Linked DNA regions of Homo sapiens: region 1 is linked to region 2. Evidence: promoter capture Hi-C in 16 types of primary human blood cells and fetal thymus (Javierre and others, 2016). All regions are on one chromosome and are shown on one strand. Each heading gives the region's core, a stretch centred on a gene start or on the middle of the fragment in contact. The rest is flanking DNA. Distances are from core to core; before and after follow the strand shown.

What was found. Contacts are between HindIII fragments. The CHiCAGO score rates a contact against its expected background, and 5 or more counts as called.
Region 1: a fragment that was not itself captured here is called in contact with the fragment with the promoter of MYLK-AS2 in region 2 in 2 of 17 cell types (megakaryocytes and endothelial precursors); the score reaches 6.4 in megakaryocytes.

What each region holds. Positions count from the first base shown.
Region 1 is chr3:123,650,593-123,655,946 of GRCh38, forward strand. All of the region lies in intron 24 of MYLK (myosin light chain kinase), which reads right to left. All of the region lies in intron 1 of LOC124909421 (a long non-coding RNA gene), which reads left to right. Among named protein-coding and RNA genes, the nearest start is that of MYLK-AS2, 36 kb to the right of the region's middle. RefSeq lists an enhancer at 3,120-3,620. The HindIII fragment of the contact is 2,795 bases long and covers 1-2,728 here.
Region 2 is chr3:123,688,170-123,693,120 of GRCh38, forward strand. It overlaps MYLK-AS2 (MYLK antisense RNA 2), which reads left to right and starts at 1,475. Exons shown (of 3, transcript NR_046629.1): 1 at 1,475-1,547; 2 at 3,408-3,665; 3 at 4,070-4,238. MYLK (myosin light chain kinase) reads right to left here. Exons shown (of 34, transcript NM_053025.4): 19 at 4,566-4,682. It overlaps LOC105369194 (a long non-coding RNA gene), which reads left to right and starts at 4,647. Exons shown (of 3, transcript XR_924417.4): 1 at 4,647-4,753. The HindIII fragment of the contact is 6,889 bases long and covers 1-4,951 here.

The sequences.
Region 1 (5,354 bases), core at 81-2,580, 38 kb before region 2:
GAAAGGAAGCTGCCATGGAAAAATAAAAAAGGATGAGATAGACAGGGACACCCAGATAGTCTAGCTGAAGTATCAGAGGTGGGTTTCACGGTTACTGTCGGGATGTGGGCCTAACTGGTCAATATTCCTAAATCCACATGTTGGAGAGTTAAGAGTGGCATTGTCCAATTCACAGGTGGAAAGGATGACCTGAGAGCAATGCAACTAGAAGCCAGGAATGGAGTTAGTGTTCAGGAGAATCTGATCATTCTACCTTTTAGGGTGGTGAACCCTAAAGTCCATAGTTAATACCCAAGACAGAAACAGCAGCTCCTCAATCTACTGCTTGGGCTGTCAGATGCTGTCACAGGGCAAAGTGTGCATGGGCCCCAAACAGGGGTGAGTACTGGGTAGCTGTTGAGAGCGCCCTGGGTGCCTGCCCTGGAGCTCTGGCTGTCGGCAGTCCAAAAGCCACAATGGAGCTGGAGGTGGCAAGCAAGACCACTGAAGGGAAGGGCTATGTCTTAATCAGAAAAGGTGAGGCCTCTGAGGTTGGGAAAGAAGTCTAAAATGGACATGACTTTAAAGAGAATCACACAATCGCCAAGGATGAGATGAGAGTTTCAGACTTTTCATCAACTCATGACTACTGCATCTTGGGGGAACCATTTAGTGTTCTACCTCACGTAGGAGGAAGGCTGGAGGGATATGGAACTCACACATGAGAAGTACCACTAGAATAATAAGTATGTTCAATAGACATTTAGGTTAGTTCAGTGATGATATTATAAACAGGGTTTTAAGAGAAGCAACAATATTGGAGTCAATGAGTGATGGGACACCAGGTGGACCAGTCACTGGACTAGGTCTTCGACACAGAATCATCCTATTTACTGTCAGGGAGGCCCCTGTCTTGACCTGTGGTGCTGCTGCCTGATATAGTGGTTCACCAGTTGAGTCATCCTTTATTTCTTGTTCCTGTGCCACATTTTCCCGGCGTGGCATGGAGACCAGTGTATTCCAAGCAGCAGAGTGAGAGGGAAAGGAGAGGGCAGCTTTCCTGGCCTGGTGTCAGGAGAAGCAGTCTTGCCAATGGCCCGGCAGCAGGAGGCTTTCCCTGCGTGCCTTGAAGGGGGCATCCAGTCCTAGAGCTGGCCCCTGCCTGTCACTGTGAGTCCAGGTAGACAGCCACAGGGCCAGCCTCTGGCCTCACTCATGAGCCCACATCCATGCCTCACCTTCGCCTCTCACCCCAGAGGTCTGTGGCAGATCTGATTCTCATGCTAATGCTCTGGGGGAAGGACCTAGATCATTCTCAAGGAATTCCAGCCCCTCTTTCTAGTGCACTGTGTTCCTTTATGCTGCAGGAAACTCGGATCAAGAGTCCGGACTAAGCAGGGAGCAGTGGCAAGTGCCTGTAGTCCCAGCTATTCGGGAGGCTGAGGCGGGAGGAATGCTTGCGTCTAGGAGTTCAAATCCAGCCTGTGCAACAGAGTGAGACCCGATCTCTTTAAAAAAGAGAAAGATTCCAGGCTGCTACATCCCCTTCTGCTTTTCCCTTCTTGTCCTGCCTCTCTTCTATTTGACCACAAGGGGAGGAGTGAGAGAGAAGTAGAGGAAAGACCACAGTTCAATTAGCAGAGCTCTTGGTGCATAAAGGGTTGTTGAGAAAGGTGAACTGGTTTCCATCTTTCCACTAGGGAAGGGTCTTCCACTGAACTTAAAAAAAAAAAAAATCTGTTCAGAATGAGCTATGAGATCCATGAGCTAAGTGGAAGGCTATTTGGAAGATGGTTCTGAGATATTTCTGCAAACAGATGAGAGTCTCGTTACCCTGGAGTGTTTGGGAGAGGATCAGCTGAGTGCTCAGGACCCTCACATGGCACAAGTCCAGTCAGTCCCCTGGACAGAGAATTGTCCCTTCCTGCAGCCAAGGACTGTTGCACACCCAGAGAACACTAGAGGGCACCCCCGCCCCGGAGACGGCCTCTGAGGCCAGGGCGTAGCTGCAGCCTGGGATGGGAGCGGTACAGGCTTTATATCTCGAACTGTCCTGGGGGTTGCAAGGAGGCTCCAGTTCTGCAAGAAGCCTCAGTCACAGTAGCTGTTTTGCTAACAATTATACAGACTAGAACAAATTAGGGTAAGGAGCAGGGATGGAGTGGATTTGAGTGACAGCAGGATTTGAGGAGGAGTACAGTTCAAGACCTGGCTGGGCTGGGAGGGAGCGGGGCTGTGGTAAGGTTCTGGCTCTGTGCACTTGGGTTTGGGAGTACATTGTCAGTTCAGGGACCCTAGTCTTAGGAGTGGCTCTGGCATAGAGAAGCCACTGGAGCTCCACGGGGAACCCATGCTTTGTCCCCCAGTGTATCCCCAGTGCCCATGGCAGTGCCTAGAACACAGGAGGGGCACAGAACACATGGTGAGTGGATGTGGGATGAGGGCTAGGGTACCAACAGGGATGCAAATGAGGCATGAGAATGAAGTAGAAGAGCGAGAGGCAGGAGTGGCAGTGGCTGTGGTGGTAGTGGTGAAGGTCAGAGCCAACATTAGCCGGGCTTCATGGAGTGTGGGTTAATCAGCACTGCCTTTTTAATATGATCCCACCCCATCTGCTCCACAGAAATGACCTACAATGACCTGTCACTTGATCCCACCTCTCTGCCAACACACACACACACACGTGCGTGAACACACACGCCACTTCCCTGAGAGCCATTTCCCTCTTCAGCAGAGGGATGGCCTATGAAGCTTTATAACTAACAAGCATCTGAGCAGACCGTGGAGGACTTTTGCCTGGAATCCCCTCAACCAGAGTCCTCTGCCCTGAGGCCTAACACTTGCCAACTGTTCTGCCCTCTTCCTCCTCCCCCTTGGTAATCCAGCCAGCCTCAGCTGGGGAGTAGCTTCCTGTCTGGAAGCCCTGGGTGGACTGGACTCCTCCTCTGGATTTCAAGTGATTTCAACATTGCCCTTTGTCTATTCCCAGCTGGGAGGGGTGGCAGCAGGGGAGGGGAGTCTGAAGGCCCAGAGAGGGTTCAGCGGGCTGATGGCAGGGAACAAGGGAGAGGCCACTTGCCCCAGACAGGCAGTCACAGCTCTTCCTCCTGGCAGAGTCTCCACACAGCCCTGGGAGCAGCTGTCCTAGACCCCTGGGGGCCACACCTTGTAGCTCCCGTGGCCTCTGGTCCTGCTGCCTGGGGTTAGTCGGGGATTCTCCAGTCTCTCCCTCTTTACACCATAGCACAGACCTGGATGATTTCCTTTCCAGCCAATGAACATCTTCACACTGCAATCTTACTCCTTTTCCTGTCACTTTTCCAAGTAACATCCTAACACCACAGACTGGAACTTGATTGCCCCCCTGGGACCCACACTCTATGCAGCCCCCACTCTGCTCATTTCAGAGGGATGTTGTGTGTGTGTGTGTGTGTGTGTGTGTGTGTGTGTGTGTGTGTAAGAAGACAGTGATGGCAGTTTTGTTACTCAGTGTCCCCTGACAGACATTTGGGAGTGGCTAGTGGTTGGGATCCCTGCGAAAGCTGTCCCAGGAGCAGGCATCACGTCTCCGTGACTTGCACCATAGCTCTCAAGGAGACCTGCTCTATGCATATTGACATGGCTCAACGGGTAAAGGCCGCCTGACACACAGCTGCTAGCATAAAATTGTAAAGTTGGTATGTTTCCCATTGGTACCCTAACTTTCTTTCTTTCTGGAGCCCTTGTTTAATTGAAAGTAAAATTTTAATACCTATTTTGTACCTAATTTTCAATTTTTTTTTCAAAACTAAACAGGGTCATTGAATCAGATGACAGTTTCCATACTCACGATGGCTCTAGCTCCCTGGTGATGCCAGGCCTGCTCGCTTTCTCGCTTTCTGAGCTTTGCTCAGGTTCACTATTTGCCTCACTTGATTTCTAATTCCTTGTAATTAGAAGAAGTCAAATACATTCTCACCTACTGATCAGTTTTGGTTTTCAAGTGACATTCTGCATGTGGAGCTCAGTCTCCTTTGATACTTGAGTCTTCTACCATCTGCCTCACAACTCTACATTCTCCTGTCTCCAAGAGCTCTCTTCCCTTGATGTCCCTCCACCTTCTCCTAACCCCCAACTTTTTCTTATCCTATATTCTTTAATTCTTTTTTTTTTTTTTTTTTTTTGAGACGGAGTCTCACTGTGTCACCCAGGCTGGAGTTCAGTGGTGCAATCTTGGCTCACTACAACCTCTGCCTCCTGGGTTCAAGCGATCCTCCTGCCTCAACCTCCTGAGTAGCTGGGACCACAGGCGCATGCCACCATGCCCAGCTAATTTTTTGTACTTTTAGTAGAGATGGGGTTTTGCCATGTTGCCCAGGCTACTCTTGAACTCCTGAGCTCAGGCGATCCACCCGCTTCAGCCTCCCAAATTGCTGGGATTACAGGTGTGAGCCACCACGCCCGGCCTCTTATCCTAAATTTACAATGTCCTTTTCCTGTTCTTCACATAAAACTTCTTGAAATAATATTCCATGCTTCTGGCCTCTCTTTCTTCCATTTATTCCTTAACCAGGGCAACCATCTTTTCACTCAGTGGAAACTCTACAGACTTGGATCACAAAGATCACTACCAACCAAAGGACTAAATCCAAAGACCCTCTGAGTCCTCATCTCCTTCATTTTTATTTAGCATTGGATGCAGTTTATGAAGCCCTCTTTGCACCTTCTCCCTCCCCTGTTTCTTTGAGACTCCAGCCTCCTCTTGGTTCTCTCCCCTCTCAGTCCTTTCTCCTGGTACTGCAAGTTCCTTCTTTATGGTGTTGGTATTGACTTTCTCTACCACACTCTCTGTAACCTTATCAATGCCCATGGTTGCAATTATTAATTAAATAGTGAAGACTTCCAAGCCTGCCACACTAGCTTAAACCTTTCTCCTGGGCTCTAGACCCAACAGTCTTAGGATACCTTCCCTCGGCTAGCCCTTAGATGCCTCAACTCAGCAGGGCTGAAACCGCAGCTCCCCTCTCCTCCCAGACTGTTATGTAACCTCCAAGTTACTCAAGTCAGGAACCTGGAAGACAGCCTGACCTCTTCCCTCAGTCTAACCAAAGGAGCACAAGCTTCAGGCCAGACAGCTCTGAGTTCAAGCATCAGTTCACCAATTACAAGCTCTGTGACTTTGGGCAAGTAGCTTCTCCCCTCTAAATCTCATTTCTCCTATCTGTAAAATGAGGGTAATAACAGTATCTGCTTCATTGGGCTATTGGGATTGGATGAAATGATGCATATAAAGTGATTAACACATCGTAAGCTTAGAGTAAGTGCTCAATACATGTTAGCCATGGTGAATTATAACAATAAACCTCTAGCTGGCTCTTGAATTTGTGTTCAGTTAC
Region 2 (4,951 bases), core at 225-2,724:
AGGGCAGTGAATGGCCTCTGTGTGTGGATGGCTCCCTGTATCCCACCTCCAACTCTGACCTCCCCCTCAACTCCAGGTTCACCTAAACACCTGCCTATGTGACAGGACCGCTTGAGAGGTCAAATAGCAATCTTAAACTTCACATGCACTAAACTCTTGATCGTGCCCCCCAGCCCCACCATTGGTCTTCACTCCCCCATGAAAACTGAGTCATCTTTAACTTCTCTCTCTCTCCATACCCAGCTCACCAGCAACTCATATCAGCTCTACAGCCAAAGAGGTTATGAATCTGATCACTTCCTGTCCCTATTGTGGCAACCCCCCATTGTGCTCCCTGCTTTCCCTCTGACTCATCCTGGGTCTGGTCATCACATGGACATGAGTGATCCTTCATAAATGTCCAGTGTTGGCCCATAACACTTAGAATAAAATCTCATTTTTTTTGTCCTAGCCAACACTGCCTGGATCTGGTCCACGGTCCTCCTCAACCTCACTTCCTACCATCCTGCCCCTTGCTCATGGCTCCACCACCCTGGCCTCCTGCCTCCTGAAACGCCTTAAGCACAGTGTCCTCAGCTCAGGGCTATGCTCTTGTTGTCACCTTGTCCCTCTTCCTTCCCTGCTTCCTTCAGTCTCTGTTCAAATGTTCCTTCCTCAGAGGGGCCTCAGTGACCACCCCCTCCAAAAATGGTATTCTCTCCCCCATTACCCTGCTTTGCTTTCTTCATAGCTGGTGACATTACCTGAGGATATGACACAGCTGTTCACCTGCATTACTGCCTCTTTCCCACTAGAAAAGTCCCAAAAGCTGGAACTTTTCCTACTTCATTTACTGTTTTAAAACCAGCTCCTATGGCAGTGCCTGGCACAGAGTGGGCACTCAGATATTAGTTGAATGACTGAGTGATGGCATGAGTACCCACTGGAGTGTCCCTTCCCATCACAATCATGCATGACCCTCTGTGGTCACAAAGCCCTGGTCTCACTGGTACCAAAAGCTGGATGCCCTGGCCAGGGTGGCTGGGGACAGGAGGCCTGAGTTGAGAATGACTGGATGAGCCAGTGAGGGGCTAAGGTGTTTTTTGAGTCCTCTCATGGGATTCTGGCCTAGGAAGGACTTAGTTTCCTCACTGCTCATCTGGGTTGGAATGAGAGGAAAGGGGTTACTGAGTCCCACGTGCAGAAGGACCTCCCCACAGGGAGGACTGTTACTCAGGGAGGTCTGGATCACTCTGGGAGCGGGCCCCACCATGGTAATTCACTGCCCGGGGAGGCTGTGTCAGGCTGTGGAAAGGAACAGGTTTCAGAGCCAGACCACTGAGTCCTGCCAGGATATTTCATGTTGTAATTCACTGTGCAGGGTGGAGCCCCAACACCAGATCTACACCTACTGTCTGTGGGGCCTGGAAGGCAGCTGACCCTTGGTGAGCCTCAGTTTGCTCACTGAGAAAGACACCCTGCCCAACTGTTGCATAGACTGAAAATGCAAAGTGCACAAGAGTCTCTGGCCAGGACAGGCATTGAAGGTCAGCTTGTTCTCCTCCTGGGTGAGTTTTCGGGCAAGTCCACGTTTACTCTAGGTTTTAGCTCCCTTCTATGTGGCACAAGTTAACCCTTGTCTTCTGCTGAGTTCAGAAGGAAGGGTGATATGACCATAATCAAGCAAGTTCATAAACACCCCTTTTCTTAGGAAAAAGACCCAAACACATGATTAAAATAGCCAGCTGTGCTGTGTTATAAAGGTTACATCCCTTATCTTTATGATATGAGGGAATCAGTAGTGTGGGTAATGCTATTTTAGCCCCATTTGCCTCATTTTTATGAGATTTTGAAAGATATGTTGGCCTCAGATGTATGGTCTCGATGGTGTTTGGCACAGGATGAGTGAATGATAGCGACTTTCAGGGGCCAGGCCAGCCCTGCTGAGTGGCTGGGGAAGCCAGTCTGAAGTCAGCACCAGCTGTAGTCCCATCGCCTAGTGGAGATGGACCTCATTGCCCCATAAGAGGGATGAAGGCCTGGTTCTATGCAGAGGTTGGGTGGGCAGTTGCAGCTGGAGACAGGCTGGAAGAGCCCACACAATGGCTGGGCTTGAAAATTCAGTCATTGTTGCTGCTTACGGCAAGTAGTTCTTCAACGTATTCTGATTCATGACTCCTTTTGAGAATTTGACTAAAAACTATGGACCCCTCTCTTCAGAAAGATGCTCCAACCCACATAATGCAACATTTTGCCTGTAATTTCAGGGGAGGCACAAACCCACTGGGATCCCCAAGTCAAGTATGATGCCTTGGGGAGTAGGGAGAGCTGAGGGGATGAGGGGACAGAATGAGGGCAGGAGATGTAGCCTAGCCAGTGGGGTGGAGCACCAGACGATAGAAAGGCGACAGGGGAGCTGTCAAAGTGACAACAGTCCTTTACTACTTTCCTAGAGAGGCTCTTGATGAAAAAATAAAGCTAAATGTGGGCAAACAGGATGCTAATATATCTGTAAGTATAGCAACAGGGAAAGAAAAGCAGGGGGAAGAGGCCACCCTTATCCTTTCTGTCAACAAAACCAAACCCAATGGACTGAGAGTCAGTCCTGTTATCTCAGCTGGGCTCCCTCCTATCACTTTTCTAGCTCTTCTTCCAAGACCCAGCTCCCAATTTGCAGCTGGAGGCCTAACTCTGCATTTGAAGGAATTAGGGATAAATAATGATGGTCATCAAGATTAGTGGAGAGGACAAGGGAATCTGCCAGCAGACTCTGGGCAAACAAAGCCTTTTAAGTTGCAGAATGAATTCCCCAAACCTTAAAAAAAAAATCCCCAAGTGTATTCAGTAGGGGAAAAGGAAATTTCATCTTGAAAACAAATCTAGAAAAGGTGCTGACATTTTACAGATAGGGAGAATGAATTGCTCTCCTGCCTTCAGCTAGCCATGTAAACAGGACCTAAAGAGGCTCCGAAAGCCGATAACCTCCTTCACTAGCTCGGGAACCAGTGTGAGTCCCAAACGAGCAGAGGGGTGTTAGACGTGGGCTTCAAGGATCATGTTTTCAGAAACGCTATACTTTACAGTGCAGCACCTGTATAGAAAGAAGCAGGACTGTGATCTGGGTGGGTGACAGCCTGGGTGAGGAGAGACTCCCACACAGGAGTCATCAGCCACAGCATCCACTGTGCAGAACCTCAAAATGTGTCCCATGCCCCCTCTGAATTGAGCATAAACTTGGACACATCAAGTCCGCTTCCTTAGACTCAGAGCCCCTATAGCACATATACGCACGATCTCCAAGGAGAAGTACACAGTATTAGATGAGTTCAGCTTACCTTTCGGCTATTAACAATTAATTCGTGCTGCCATTGTGTTTTTATAAAAAAGACTTTCTTTTCCACCTCTCTCCCATTCATCATGTTCCATAGAGCTCAGCTCTGTGATCAGGAAACCAATTGTAAAGTCCAGAATGAGGACACGGGCTCTACATGGTGTGGAATGGCAGTGAGACGGGCTAGGACTTCAGAACTCAACTGATCACACACAGGAGGGAGAAGAACAACCAAGCTGGGCTTCAAGATGCCTTATTTGGACACTAGTTTTTGATGTGTCTCTGATGGTTATTAACCAGACATTTCAAGGGCAAGAAACTATTTCCCCAAAACTACCTTTTGAGACATTTCCAGGTAAGTGCCAAATACAAAGAAATGATCCTGGGTTGTGAGTCCTGGGATGGGGTTCTGGCCCCAGCTTGGCCCTAAATGGGCCAGAGAGCCCCCCTCCAAAATGCATTTCCTCTCTGGATGCCCTCAGTTTCTTATCTGTAAAATGAGGGTGTTCATCTAAATCATCACGAGGTTCATCCTACTTCTCAGGTTCCAATTCTATACTCCCCAGGAAGGAGAGAAAAAAGAGTCATGAATGCACTTCCTGCATTTCCTTAGGACAAAGCCCAGTTCCTCGCAGCTTGGCACTGCCTCTTCCTAACACAGAAACTCCGCTAAGACCTGGCAGGCCTGCTTTCTCCCCGATGTGTCCTCCCACCTCCCTCTGCAGTATTATTATTACTACTACCATTTTGTTTTGGCAGAGGCTGCCCTGTCCTCTCTGTCCAGAGACTCAGCCCCGACTCACCTCCTCTAGGAAGTCTCCCACACGGACCTCGCTCTGCTCCCTCCTCCTCACGGCTGACCCTGCTGGGTCGTCCTGCCAGCTCGGACACTTGTTTGTTGTGGCTTTTGTAAAATACTCTGTAGTCATTTTCCTGTGGGTGTGTCTTTTCTACTGCCCAGTGCCCCAGCTTCCCAGCTCAGAAGGTTCTGGGTGTGGGGATCAGGACTGGGAGGGGGACAGGACAGCCAGGGGAGGGGTGAAGCCATGTAGGTGATCAAGTAGAGCTGCCACTTTCCTTCCTGTCTCTTTTTCTTTTGGCAAAAGATATTCATTCATCCAAAATGAATGCCTTTGGGTAGGGAGGGCAGTGTTGGAGGCAGTTCTGTCTGACAGGCAAGGTATGGTAAGGAAGGGAGGGGCTGAGAAATGGGACCCCTGTGTATGGGTGGCGGCGATGGGTGGGCACGACCTACCATCCACGGTGACTTGGCAGGAGCACTCCGCCTGGCCAGCGTCATTCTTGGCTACACACTTGTATAAGCCTCTGTCCTCAGGCAGTGCCTTCTCGATGGAGACGGAGCAGAGTGAGCCTGGGGAGGAAGAATTGTGGAGTGAACCAGGTGTGGTCGTAGTACCTGCCCTGGCATCTGGAGCGCAGCAGGTGAGTGTTACTCGCACGGGCAGCCTCTGGGAGCCCAGAAGCCAGAGGCCTTGTGGGAACCAATCCCCCACTCCTCACCAAAGCCAGGGAACTTTCTGCTTATAACCCATGTCCAAAATAACTGATCCCTAAATACGTTCCTTCCTGATACCTCCTCCCCCACTCCAAAGAGTCCTCTTGTGGGGACATAATAGAAAG